4 separate regions of the Homo sapiens genome follow, and all the other regions are linked to region 1. The links are contacts of gene promoters, found by promoter capture Hi-C in human tissues and cell types (Jung and others, 2019). All regions are on one chromosome and are shown on one strand. The core of a region is centred on a gene start or on the middle of the fragment in contact, and the rest is flanking DNA. Distances in the headings are between cores, read along the strand shown. Region 1 holds the start of CHRM1 (cholinergic receptor muscarinic 1). Region 2 has its middle 19 kb from the start of SLC22A25. Region 3 has its middle 59 kb from the start of SLC22A9. Region 4 overlaps SLC22A25 (solute carrier family 22 member 25).

Evidence for each region. The method cuts DNA at HindIII sites, captures the fragments that hold promoters and counts their contacts. A contact is called where the count stands out against the background at its distance.
Region 2: a fragment that was not itself captured here is called in contact with the fragment with the promoter of CHRM1 in region 1 in 2 of the 25 tissues and cell types used here (dorsolateral prefrontal cortex and thymus).
Region 3: a contact is called between a fragment that was not itself captured here and the fragment with the promoter of CHRM1 in region 1, in 5 of the 25 tissues and cell types used here (H1 embryonic stem cells, dorsolateral prefrontal cortex, mesenchymal stem cells and 2 more).
Region 4: a contact is called between a fragment that was not itself captured here and the fragment with the promoter of CHRM1 in region 1, in 2 of the 25 tissues and cell types used here (mesendoderm cells and spleen).

The regions. Positions count from the first base shown.
Region 1 is chr11:62,919,948-62,923,021 of GRCh38, forward strand. It overlaps CHRM1 (cholinergic receptor muscarinic 1), which reads right to left and starts at 1,416. Exons shown (of 2, transcript NM_000738.3): 1 at 1,271-1,416. LOC105369333 (a long non-coding RNA gene) reads left to right here and starts at 213. Exons shown (of 5, transcript XR_002957251.2): 1 at 213-494. RefSeq lists an enhancer at 1,740-2,274. The HindIII fragment of the contact is 6,896 bases long and covers 1-3,074 here.
Region 2 is chr11:63,261,006-63,264,268 of GRCh38, forward strand. No RefSeq gene overlaps it. Among named protein-coding and RNA genes, the nearest start is that of SLC22A25, 19 kb to the left of the region's middle. The HindIII fragment of the contact is 6,692 bases long and covers 1-3,263 here.
Region 3 is chr11:63,426,799-63,429,958 of GRCh38, forward strand. No RefSeq gene overlaps it. Among named protein-coding and RNA genes, the nearest start is that of SLC22A9, 59 kb to the left of the region's middle. The HindIII fragment of the contact is 3,761 bases long and covers 25-3,160 here.
Region 4 is chr11:63,204,915-63,208,248 of GRCh38, forward strand. The region is part of intron 7 of SLC22A25 (solute carrier family 22 member 25); the gene reads right to left. Among named protein-coding and RNA genes, the nearest start is that of SLC22A25, 37 kb to the right of the region's middle. The HindIII fragment of the contact is 3,713 bases long and covers 86-3,334 here.

The DNA.
Region 1 (3,074 bases), core at 166-2,665:
TTTGGACTCCCCATTACACTTCAGAATCCAGTTCTCAGAACTCCAACCGCCAGCTGTCAGCTGCGAGCCAAGACCCACATCTTCTGCAGCCCATTTCACTATCTCCTTCCCTTTCATATCTCAGCCGCGATAGCGACTGCAGCTTGCCTGGTGGCTGAGGTCAGAGGGCAGAGAACTCTCATCTGACAGCCCACTGAACAGCTGATTACCCTGAGAAAGGAGACTGTCTGGCTACTGGAGACTGCCTGACTCCTTCCAGCCAGTTGGGCAGGGGTCTTGGGTCAGTCTGGGTGGAGCTGCAGGTGTGTTTTGTGCAAAGATGTGAACCCCTCTCCATTGGCTCTGATAACCTCTAAGCTGCACATGTCTGGATGACCTAATGAGAGCTGACGACCCCCTCCCCAGCTGGCCTGCCCAGGAGCTGACAACTCTACAAGCATCAGAGTTCCTGGCCCCTAGCCCATCCCCATGTTGTGCAGTCTGCGGGCACTGGGGTGAGTACCTGGCGTGGGTGCCCATTGGTATCCATGCATTGCCTGGATATAGGACTGAGACCCACCCTGCGGGAGCCCAAGATACTAGAAACATAAGGAGGGTCCTCTGGGCCCCTGCGCACGTCAGGGCCACCTTCCCTGGCTAGTGTGGCCACCCACATGCCCATTTGTCCCCAAAGAGCCCTGGGGCTCTTTGCCTGGTCTCCTGCTGGCTTCTGGCCTGACACCCACCTTGGCTTCTAGCTTCTCTATCTGGCCAGCAGCCTGATTCAGTCCATCTTGGGGGAGCTGAGGTGGACGGGGGTGGTGGGTTTCAGGGTGCCCTGAGGGAGGACAGGAGGTTCTGGGACTGGCACCCCCATCAAGATGGGGGTCAACCTCCCACAGGATGCTGGTGGCAAGGGCTGCTTCCTGGCCCTTTGCCCTTCCCACTCTGCCCCTAGGGTGTTGGGGGTTCTGCTTGCTACCAGGCAGCCTAATCCCTTCTGGGCCTCAGGTCCAGTTTCCTGAGGGGGATCTCCATCTCCTCTGCCAGCAGAAGCCCAGAAAAACATCAGCTATATCCACTCAAAGCCAGGAGGCCGAGTGTTTGGAGCAGTCAGTGTTCAATGCTACAGAGCCCCCTTGCCCTCTAGACCCCTCCCTGGCCTCCTCCTATCTCTGTGAGTCCATCCCTATTTCCATCTCATCCTGATCCCTGCCCTCCCCCGCTCCCCAGGACCCTCCTACCCTCTACCTTAGTGCAGCCCCTCCCAAGCCCTCCCAAATGTACTCACCACGGGGCTGAAGAGGGGTCTGTAGGGTCCTCAGCCCCACTGCCTCCCTGGGGGCCTGCGGCGTCTCCAGGGACCCAAACACCTGGCTCCCAGGGGGAGCTGCGCCCTGTGCTGGCAGCGGGAGAGGCACAGCCAGTGATTGGCATGTCCCACCCCCTGGCACGCCAGCCTTAGCGGGGAGGGAGAAAGGGAAAGAGAGGGAGGGAGGAAAGGGAGAAAAGGAAGGGAGGGGAGCTGGAGGGAAGCCTCAGGCAGCGTCTGGGGTTGGACTAGGTTCTGGAGTGTGCCCCCCTCCTTCACCAGGGCACCCAATTTGAGCCCCAAGAGGGAGGAGAAAGGACATGAGGAAGGCGAGCCCAGGAAGGCTAAAAGTCCCGGACGGGAGAGAAGGCGGATACAGGGAGACAAACACCCACACCCACTGCACAGACCCGGCGGCACACACACCCTCACAAAGGCACACTGTTTCCTTGGGCTCCTCCCCCCACCCAACCTTAGAGCCCCCAGCCCCTGTGCACCATGCCCCAACACACATGCCCTGGTATTCACATGCCTGCTTCCCTCGCACACACGCCCTCCCCCCTGCACATGCCCACGCACCCACCCACCCAACTACACACCCTGCTCTTCCTCCCTGCTGTGAGAGAGCTAGATTCCTTCTGTTTGGAAATGACACATTGGGCCTCACGTGAGAGGCTCCAACTTGGAACAGACCCAGAGGGCTGGCGCACCCGCCCGGGGGCTGAGTGAACGTGCCCGCATGCTGGGCTGTGTGCGCTAGCATTGGGCTATGCATAGCCTGTTGTGAGGGTATATGGGTGTCTGCTTTTCGGGGATGAGTAGAGGGCCAGGTGCCTGCCCCATGTGCGGCTGAGTGCCTTGCATATGTGTGTCCCTGTGTACTCATGTCACCATGCAGCCTGTGTAAGTGCAGGTGTGACCCTATCAGTCTGGAGGCAGGACGCGTGTGCACACGTGTGTCTGTATCTGATGTGTGGCTGAGTGTTGCCCAACTGTGGAACTTGCTAATTCTGACAAGTGAGGCAGCCTCTACCTGCCTGCTCCACCCCAAGCTTCCACTTGGAAGACAGACAGGCAGACAGACAGCTCTCCTCCCAGCTTGTCAAGCTCTGTCTCCCCTGACTCCCACTCAGGGCTCACAGGTGTGTACCTGGGAGGAGATGAGCCCTCCTCCCAATCTCCCTCAGCCCTACTGGGTGAGGCCAGCATCCCTCCCTGCCAGGCTGGTCTGGACTTCTGTGTTGAGCTTCCTCAGAGATAGAACCCCTGGGGGGCCGTTTGCCCTAGAGATGTGGGTCCTGCACCGCCTCTGTTTGGCCCTAGAGACCTCCCCGGGAGCTGACTGGGGAGGAGAGTTGGAGGCTGCAGGGACTGCCTTCTGGGGCTGCTGTGTTCTTTGCCCACTGGGCTGTGTCGAAGTCTTGGGGTGAGAGGTGGGAAGGAATGGGAGCATCAATTATCCCCATTTTGTAGGTGAGAAATCTGAAGAGCAGAGGTATGATTAGCATGTGGTGGGCAGGTGTTTGGGCTCAGGTCACTTGGCTCTAAGCCCAGGGCTCTGGAGTCTGGGGCAGGGGTTTCCCCTACTCATTTCCCCACCAAGCGCCGCCCCCCGCCCCCACAACCCCGCCAATGCTGGTGCCTGAGGGTAACCTGGGGCTTTCTCACCCAGGAGCCCAGTTGGCCAATGGAGCCAAGTGGAGCTGAAACTGGAGTTCCTGGGGTTTGGTCAGCAGCTACTGGTGGGCACACGTGGCAGGTACATGTGGGGGCATCTGTGCTT
Region 2 (3,263 bases), core at 230-2,729, 340 kb after region 1:
ATCCTTTTTGTTGATGTTGATGCTATTTTTTTCTGTTTGTTAGTTCTCCTTCTAACAGTCAGGCCCCTCTGCTGCAGGTCTGCTGGAGTTTGCTGGAGGTCCACTCCAGACACTGTTTGACTGGTATCACCAGTGGAGGCTGCAGAACAGCAAAGATTGCTGCCTGTTCCTTCCTCTGGAAGCTTCATCCCAGAGGGGCACATACCAGATGCCAGGCGGAGCTCTCCTGTATGAGGTGTCTGTAGCCCCTGCTGGGAGGTGTCTCCCAGTCAGGAGACATGGGTGTCAGGGACCCACTTGAGGAGGCAGTCTGACCCTTAGCAGAGCTAGTGCACTGTGCTGGGAGATCTGCTGCTCTCTTCAGAGCCTGCAGGCAGTGGCGTTTAAGTCTGCTGAAGCTGCGCCAACAGCCACTCCTTCCCCCAGGTGCTCTGTCCCAGGGAGATGGGAATTTTATCTATAAGCCCCTGACTGGGGCTGCTGCCTTTTTTTCAGAGATGCCCTGCCTGGAGAGGAGGAATCTAGAGAGGCAGTATGGCTATAGTGGCTTTGCTGAGCTGTGGAGGTCTCTGCCCAGTTGGAACTTCGCTGTGGCTTTTTTACACTGTAAGGGGAAAACCAACTACTCAAGCCTCAGTAATGGCAGATGCCCCTCCCCGCACTAAGCTCAAGCTTAGTTCCCAGGTCGACTTCAGACTGCTGTGCTGGCAGGGAGAATTTCAAGCCAGTGGATCTTAGCTTGCTGGGCTCTATGGGGGTGGGATCCATTGAGCTAGACCACTTGGCTCCCTGGCTTCAGCCCCCTTTCCAGGGGAGTGAATGGCTGTCTTGCTGGCATTCCAGGCACCACTGGGATATGAAAAGAAATTCCTGCAGCTAGCTTGGTGTCTGCCCAAACGGCCACCCAGTTTTGTGCTTGAAACTCAGGGCTCTGGTGGTGTAGGCACCCTGGGGAATGTCCTGGTCTGTGGGTTGGGAAGACCATGGGAAAAGCATAGTATCTGGGCTGGGACTGTTCCTCATGGCACAGTCCCTCAAGGCCTCCCTTGGCTAGAGGAGGGAGTTCCTTGACCCCTTGCACTTCTGGGGTGAGGCAATGCCCCACCCTGCTTCGGCTCACCCTCCATGGGCTACACCCACTGTCTAACCAGTCCCAATGAGACGAGCCGGGTACCTCAGTTGGAAAAGCAGAAATCACCTGCCTTCTATGTTGATCTCACCGGGAGCTGCAGACCGGAGCTGTTCCTATTTGGCCGTCTTGCCAGGTCTGCCCGGTACAACATTTCTTAAGGTCCCAGAAAGGTCAAAGATTCTGTGTATTACTGAGAAACAAAGGGCCTTTAAAAAGATTAAGGACATGCCCCTCAATCAAACAACAGAGGCTCTAGGATACTTAGGTGCACTGTTTCTTCACCATCTCAGCAGAAGCCCAAGGTGAAAAGTTTATCTCAAAGATATTTGTTGGGGTAGATTTTCTCTAATAAGATAAACCACAAAGAGATTCACAGAACATCCACAACTTTTTAAAGAAATCTTTATCAGAAAAATGCTGCCAATTTGACTGCAAGGGGCAAAGACAGTACAAAAATAAAAAGGCTGTGTAGTCCTCAAAATGCTCTGGGTGGGAAGGTAGCTGAGAATACTATTCACTTAGAGGTATGTTCTGTCTTTTAAAAAAAATGTTGGATCCAAGTGGCACGAGGCTGTGGCTGAGAGCCAAATTGCTTTCATTTTTCATGCCTCCAGACCTATTCAAGGAACTTCTAATATTTGCCTAAGTGCACTTCATAATTGCTCTGAACTCCTTGTGTCTCACGTCTCCTCCATTTTGAACGGGAATGTCTACAGTAGTAATTGGATGCTTGTATTATTATTGTGTGTTGAGTGTTTTGGAGACAAGTGTCTTGTCTCTTCAGTTTCACAGATTAACAAATACAAAGATAAAAGCCAGAGAACTCCATGTAAGTAGTCTCACTTACACTTGAACCTCATTTAAATGGTAAGATTCTGGACTTTGAGTGTGTGCTATAATGAAATAATACTTTTCTGGACATTTCACACATGATAATGTAGTACATCAGAGGGATGGAATCATTTGGGACCAGAGGGTCTGGCCACAATCTGCCACAGCTGCTGTTCCATGCTGCGGAGAATTCCTGCTGGTCCAAACTGCCCAGTCTTCCTGGCACCAGCAGGGGAGAACAGCAGACTGGAGCCACAGTGATGGTTGTCTTCTTAGGCAGTCTCTGTCCTGCTGCCACTGGCTGCAACCTGGGCAGCCACCAAGAGCTTGCACAGCTCTGTGCTTGGGTCCCAAGGCCCTGGTGGTGTGGGCTCACGAGGGATCTCTTGATCCATGGGTTGCACAGATCCGTGGAAAGAGCGTGGTTTCTCAGGCAGGGTACCACAATCACTCACTCCCTCCCTTGGCTGGGAGTGGGGGCTCCCCTTACTCCATGCAACTCCTGGGTGGGCCCTCGTTCCATCTTGCTTTTTCTTACTCTCAGTGGATCATGCCAACCGCCTAGTCAGTCCCAATGAGAGAACCTGGATACCTCAGTTGAAGGCACAGGATCCACTCACCATTTTTGCTCTTCTTGGTGGGCGCCACCAACTGCAGCTGCTTCTAATAGGCCATCTTGGCCCCCTCTGCCCATCTTTTTACTGTTAATGGATATTAACTTGGACCTATGACCTGAGAAACCTTATTTATTCACTTTTTAAATTCGAATGTTTAATTAATTCATTAATTCTGCTATTTGAATTAATGGCACAGAGGCCTAAGTCTGAACACAAGGGGAAAATGAACTCTCTAACCCAGAAATATATACAGGTAATATGTAAGTGAGATAGACTCAAAGGTCACAAGTTTTAACTGAGACTATTAGATGGCATTGAGCATCTAAACTCCTCTCAGTGTCCTTGTGGGTGACATGCTTCAGTGACAGCCATGGTTGACTGCCTCCTCCAGAAGGAGCTCTGCCAGGACACAGAAAGCCCTAAATATCTCATCCTTAAGCCAAGTCATCCTGGGTTCTTACTTTGCAAAAATTACCTATTAAAGCTATTCCACAGGATCAGCATCCAGGTTAGAGGTGCAATGTCTTCCAATCCTGCGAGTGCCACAGTGCTTGCACAACCCTCAGATTTTATAATGACTATCCACTGCACATAAGCACTTACACTGCAGGTAGGAAAATATGGCCAGTCTAAAAGTGTCTGTAATGATTTATCTCACAGGATCTAGGTGGCTAAGAATATTT
Region 3 (3,160 bases), core at 655-3,154, 510 kb after region 1:
TGTATCCCTTTGAGAAAATAATTTCTTTTCTTTTGGATAGATACCCTGTAGTGAGATTGCTGCATCATGTAGTAGTTCTAGATTTAGTTTTTCTGAGAAATATCTATACTGCTTTCCATAATGGTTGCACTAATTTACATTCCCACCATGTCTAAGAGTACCCTTTTCTCTGCAACCTCACCAGCATCTGGGTGTGTGTGTGTCTGTGTGAGTGTGTGCATCTGTCAATAATAAACATTCTGTGGTGAGATAATATCTCATTGTGGTTTTTATTTACAATCCCTGATAATTAGTGTTGAGCATTTTTCATATACTATTGGTCTTTTGTAAGTCTTCTTTTGAAAAATATTGTTCATTTTTAGTGGGATTGTTTGGTTTTCTATAGTTGAATTGTTATTCTTGTATAGAATACATATTAGTCCCCTTTGGATGAGCACTTTGCAAATATTTTCTCCCATTCAAGTGATTTGCACTTCCCTTGTAATAGGTGATGTTGAGCAGATTTTCATATACCTATTAGCCATTTGTACATCTTTTTTTAGGTAAGATTTTATTTATTATGATGGGTGTGCTTGCCTGTTCCTAAGTTCATTCCAGTCTGGAACATAGGAAGATAATGCTACCTGCATAGCTGCTACACCATTCAGCCATTTCTTTCCTTTGTTTTTAACTGGGTTAAGATAGAAAACCCTAGTTCACACAAACTAGTTGTTGTGAATGGTAGTAATAGCAGGACACTCTTTCTATTTAACAATGGAAAGTCTTCCTTTACCTTATTCCAAAATGCTGATAAGCTTAAGGTCTCATAATCATTCTTTAATGTATATGAAGAACTAAACTGCAATAATTCATTCTCTTCTTCAGGCACCAAGTTTAGCTCAATTATTGATTCAGGGTTTTGAAAAGCAAATGGATATTTTACCCAACTGTTTTCCCTTAATGTTTCAAATTTTTCTTCTGGAAAGAAACGGTTAAAAGTTTGAGATAGGTCACTTCCAAGATGGCCTAATAGGAACAGCTCCAGTCTACAGCTCCCAGTGAGATCGATGCAGAAGATGGGTGATTTCTGCATTTCCAACTGAGGTACCTGGTTCATCTCATTGGGACTGGTTGGACAGTGGGTGCAGCCCATGGAGGGTGAGCCAAAGCAGGGCAGGGCATCACCTCACCCAGGAAGTGCAAGGGGTTGGGGGATTTCCCTTTCCTAGCCAAGGAAAGCTGGGAGTGACTGTACCTGGAGGAATGGTACACTCCTGCCCAAATACTGCACTTTTCCCAGGGTCATCACAACCAGCAGACCAGGAGATTCCCTCCCAAGCCTGACTAGACAGGTCCCACACCCATGGAGCCTTGCTCGCTGCTAATGCAGCAGTCTGAGATCAACCTGGGATGTTGGAGCTTGGCAGGGGGAGGGGCATCCACTACTACTGAGGCTTGAGTAGGCAGTTCTATGCCCACAGTCTAAACAAAGCAACAGGGAACTTCAAACTGGGCGGAGCCCACCACAGCTCAGCAAGGCCTACTGCCTCTCTAGATTCCACCTCTAGGGGCAGGGCATATCTGAACAAAAGGCAGGAGACAGCTTCTGCAGACTTAAACCTCCCTGCCTAACAGCTCTGAAAAGAGCAGTGGTTCTCACAGCACAGAGTTCAAGCTCTGATAATGGACAGACTGCCTCCTCAAGTGGGTCCATGACCCCATGATTCCTGATGGGGAGACACCTCACAGTAGGGGCCGACAGACACCTCATACAGGCAGGTGTCCCTCTGGGACAAAGCTTCCAGAGAAAGGATCAGGCAGCAATATTTGCTGTTCTGCAACCTCCACTGGAAATACCCAGGCAAACCTGGTAATACTCCAGGGTCTGGAGTGGACCTCCAGCAAACTCCAACAGACCTGCAGATGAGGGGCCTGACTGTTAGAAGGAAAACTAACAAACAGAAAGGAATAGCATCAACATCAACAAAAAGGACATCCACAACAAAACCCCATCCATAGGTCACCAACATCAAAGACCAAACGTAGACAAAAACCACAAAAATGGGGAGAAACCAGAGCAGAAAGGCTGAAAATTCCAAAACCAAAATACCTCTTCTCCTCCAAAGGAACACAACTCCTCAACAGCAAGGGAATAAAACTGGATGGAGAATGAGTTTGACAAATTGACAAAAGTAGTCATCAGAAGGTCGGTAATAACAAACTTCTCTGAGCTAAAGGAGCATGTTCTAACCCATTGCAAGGAAACTAAACTTTGAAAAAAGGTTAGACGAATGGCTAACTAGAATACCAGTAAGGAGAAGAGCTTAAATGGCCTGATGGAGCTGAGAACCACAGTATGAGACCTTCATGAAGCATACACAAGCTTCAATAGCCGATTAGATCAAGTGGAAGTAAGGATATCAGTGATTGAAGATCAAATTAATGAAATAAAGTGAGAAGACAAGACTAGAGAAACAAGGGTGAAAAGAAACAAATAAAGCCTCCAATAAACATGAGACTATATGAAGACCAAATCTATGTTTGATTGGTGTACCTGAAAGTGATGGGAGAATGGAACCAAGTTAGAAAACACTCTTCAGGACATTATCCAGGAGAACTTCCCCAACGTAGCAAGGCAGGCCAACATTCAACTTCAGGAAATAGAGAGAACACCACAAAGATACTCCTGGAGAAGAGCAACCCCAAGAAACATAATCATCATATTCACCAAGGTTGAAATGAAGGAAAAAATGTTAAGGGCAGCCAGAGAGAAAAGTCAGGTTACCCACAAAGGGAAGCCCATCAGACTAACAGCAGATCTCTCAGCAGAAACCCTACAAGCCAGAAGAGAGTGGGGGCTAATATTCAACATTATTAAAGAAAAAATTTTTAACCCAGAATTTCATATCCAGCCAACTAAGCTTCATAAGTGAAGGAGAAATAAAATCCTTTACAAACAAGCAAGTGCTGAGGGATTTTGTCACCATCAGGTGTGCCTTAAAGAGCTCCTGAAGGAAGCACTAAATATGGAAAGGAAAAAGTGGTACCAGCCACTGCAAAAACAAACCAAAATGTAAAGACCATCGACACTATGAAGAAACCGCATCAACTAATGGGGAAAATAACCTGCTAGCACCATAATGACAGGATCAAATTCACACATAACAATATTAGCATTAAA
Region 4 (3,334 bases), core at 692-3,191, 290 kb after region 1:
AACATTCCTCTGCAAATGCAAAAGTATGGAAATCATAACAAACAGTCTCTCAGACCACAGTGCAATCAAATTAGAACTCAGGATTAAGAAACTCACTCAAACCCACACAACTACATGGACACTGAACAACCTGCTCCTGAATGACTATTGGGTAAATAACAAAATTAAGGCAGAAAAAAATACATTTTCTGAACCCGATGGGAACAAAGATACAATGTACCAGAGTCTCTGGGACACATTTAAAACAGTGTTTAGAGGGAAATTTATAGCACTAAATGCCCACAGAGGAAAGTGGGAAACATCTGTAATTACCATCCTAACATCACAATGAAAAGAACTAGAGAAGTAAGAGTAAACAAATTCAAAAGCTAGCAGAAGACAAGAAATAACTAAGATCAGAGCAGAAATGAGAGATAGAACCATGAAAACCCTTCAAAAAATCAATGAATCCAGCAGCTGTTTTTTGAAAAAAATAACAAAATAGACCGCTAGCAGGACTAATACAGAAGAAAAGAGAGAAGAATCAAATTGGCACAATAAAAAATGATAAAGGGGATATCACTGCTGATCCCATAGAAATACAAACTGCCATCACAGAATATTATAAACAACCCTATGCAAATGAAGTAGAAAATCTAGATGAAATGGATAAATTCCTGGACATATACATTCTCCCAAGACTAAACCAGGAAGAAGTTGAATCCTTGAATAGACCAATAACAAGTTCTGAAATTGAGGCAGTAATTAATAGCCTACCAACCAACCAAAGGCCAGGACCAGAAAGATTTACAGCCGAATTCTACCAGAGGTACAAAGAGAAGTTGGTACCCTTCCTTCTGAAACTATTCCAAACAACAGAATAAAAGGGACTCTTCCCAAACTCATTTTATGAGGCCAGCATCATCCTGATACCAAAACCCGTTGGAAACACAACAAAAAAATTCAGGCCAATATTCCTGATGAACATTAGTGCAAAAATCCTCAATAAAATATGGGCAAACTGAATCCAGCAGCACATCAAAAAGCTTATCCACCACCATCAAGTCAGCTTCATCCCTGGGATGCAAGGCTGGTTCCACGTAAGCAAATCCATCACATAAACAGAACAAATGACAAAAACCACATGATTATCTCAATAGATGCAGAAAAGGCCTTCAATAAAATTGAACACCACTTCATGCTAAAAACTCTCAATAAACTAGTTATTGATGGAACGTATCTCAAAATAATAGCAGCTATTTATTATGAACCTATAGCCAATATCATACTAAATGGGCAAAAGCTGGAAGCATTCCCTTTGAAAACCAGCACAAGATGAGGGTGGTGTCTCTCACTACTCCTATTCAACATAGTATTGGAAGTTCTGGCCAGGCCAATCAGGCAAGAGAAAGAAATAAAGGGTATTCAAACAGGAAGAGAGGAAGTCAAAATCTCTCTGTTTCCAGACAGTATGATTGTTTATTTAGAAAACCCCATTGTCTCAGTCCAAAATCTTCTTAAGCTGATAAGCAACTTCAGCAAAGTCTCAGGATACAAAATCAATGTGCAAAAATCACAAGCATTCCTATACACAAATAATAGAAAAACAGAGAGCCAAATCATGAGTGAACTCTCATTCACAGTTGCTACAAAGAGAATAAAATACCTAGGAATAGAACTCACAAGGGATGTGAAGGATGTCTTCAAGGAGAATTGCAAACCACTGCTCAAGGAAATAAGAGAAAATACAAACAATGGAAAAATATTCTGTGCTCATGGATAGAATCAATATCATAAAAATGGCCATACTGCCCAAAGTAATTTAAAGATTCAATGCTATCCCCAACAAGCTACAAATGACTTTTTCACAGAATTAGAAAAAAGTACTTGAAATTTCATATGGAACTACAAAAGAGCCTACGTAGCCAAGGCAATGTTAAGCAAAAAGAACAAAGCTGGAGGCATCATGTTACCTGACTTCAAACTACATTACAAGGCTACAGTAACCAAAACAGCATGGCAGTGGTACCAAAACAGATACATAGACCACTTGAACAGAACAGAGCCCTCAGAAATAATTTCACACATCCACAACCATCTGATCTTTGATAAACCTGACAAAAACAAGCAATGGGGAAGGGATTCCCTATTTAATAAATGGTGCTGGGAAAACTGGCTAGCCATATACAGAAAACTGAGGGGTCCACCTTATACAAAAATTAACTCAGGATGAATTAAAGACTTAAATGTAAGACCTAAAGGCATAAAAACCCTAGAAGAAAACCTAGGCATTACCATTCAGGACATAGGCATGGACAAAGATTTTATGACTAAAACACAAAAAGCAATGGCAACAAAAGCCAAAATTGATAAATGGGATCTAATTAAGCTAAAGAGCTTCTGCACAGCATTGGTAACTATCATCAGAGTGAACAGGCAACCTTCAGAAGGGGAGAAAATTTTTGCAATCTATTCATCTGGCAAAGGGCTAATATCCAGAATCTACAAGGAACTTAAATAAATTTACAAGAAAAAAATACTCCATCAAAAAGTGGGTAAAGGATATGACCAGACACTTCTCAAAATAAGACATTTATGCAGCCAACAAACATATGAAAAAAAGCTCATCATCACTGGTCATTAGAGAAATGCAAATCAAAACCACAATGTGATACCATCTTGGAACAGGAATTAAGAGAAATGAAAGAATGTGTAAGCAGAAACTCAGCTGTATGTAAGAAAACCCAATTCCCCCTGAGAAAAAGAAAGAGCTGGAGTCCTTTAAAAATTAACTGCCTATTTTTCTGTGGCTAGTGAGCCTTATCTCTCCTTCTTTCCTAGGCATTGTGAAGACCCTGTTTCTCTAGATGTGTAGCTGCAAGGTCACTAGACAGATAAACTCAAGTCGTAAAACATGTTTGTTTTTGAAATGTAAGAAATGATGTAATGCATGTCTTAATTAATTGAATAACTGTCTTTGTTTCTCACTTCTGTAATATGCTTCCCCCTGCACAGATCTCCCCCTACCCCACGAAATGCTTAAAAGGTAACTTAAGTCTTTGTTCAGGGCTCAGTCCTTTGGATGCTAATCTGACTGGGCCAGCACACCTAAATAATAACTATCCTCCTGAACCCCATTGGTCTCTCTGATTCCTTAACAATCCTGCAACATTTCTGGGGACTCATCCAGGATTGGAGATGACAGATTTACTGTCTCCTTTGCCTGTGGGACTACAGCCCTGTGGCCATGGGAGACCTGGCATCCAAGGCATACCATGAGGGAGCTTCACCTGGATGGAGACTGGCTCTTCCCCCATCCTGGCAGCCTGCCTGGCAGTGCAATGGAGCCAGGGGT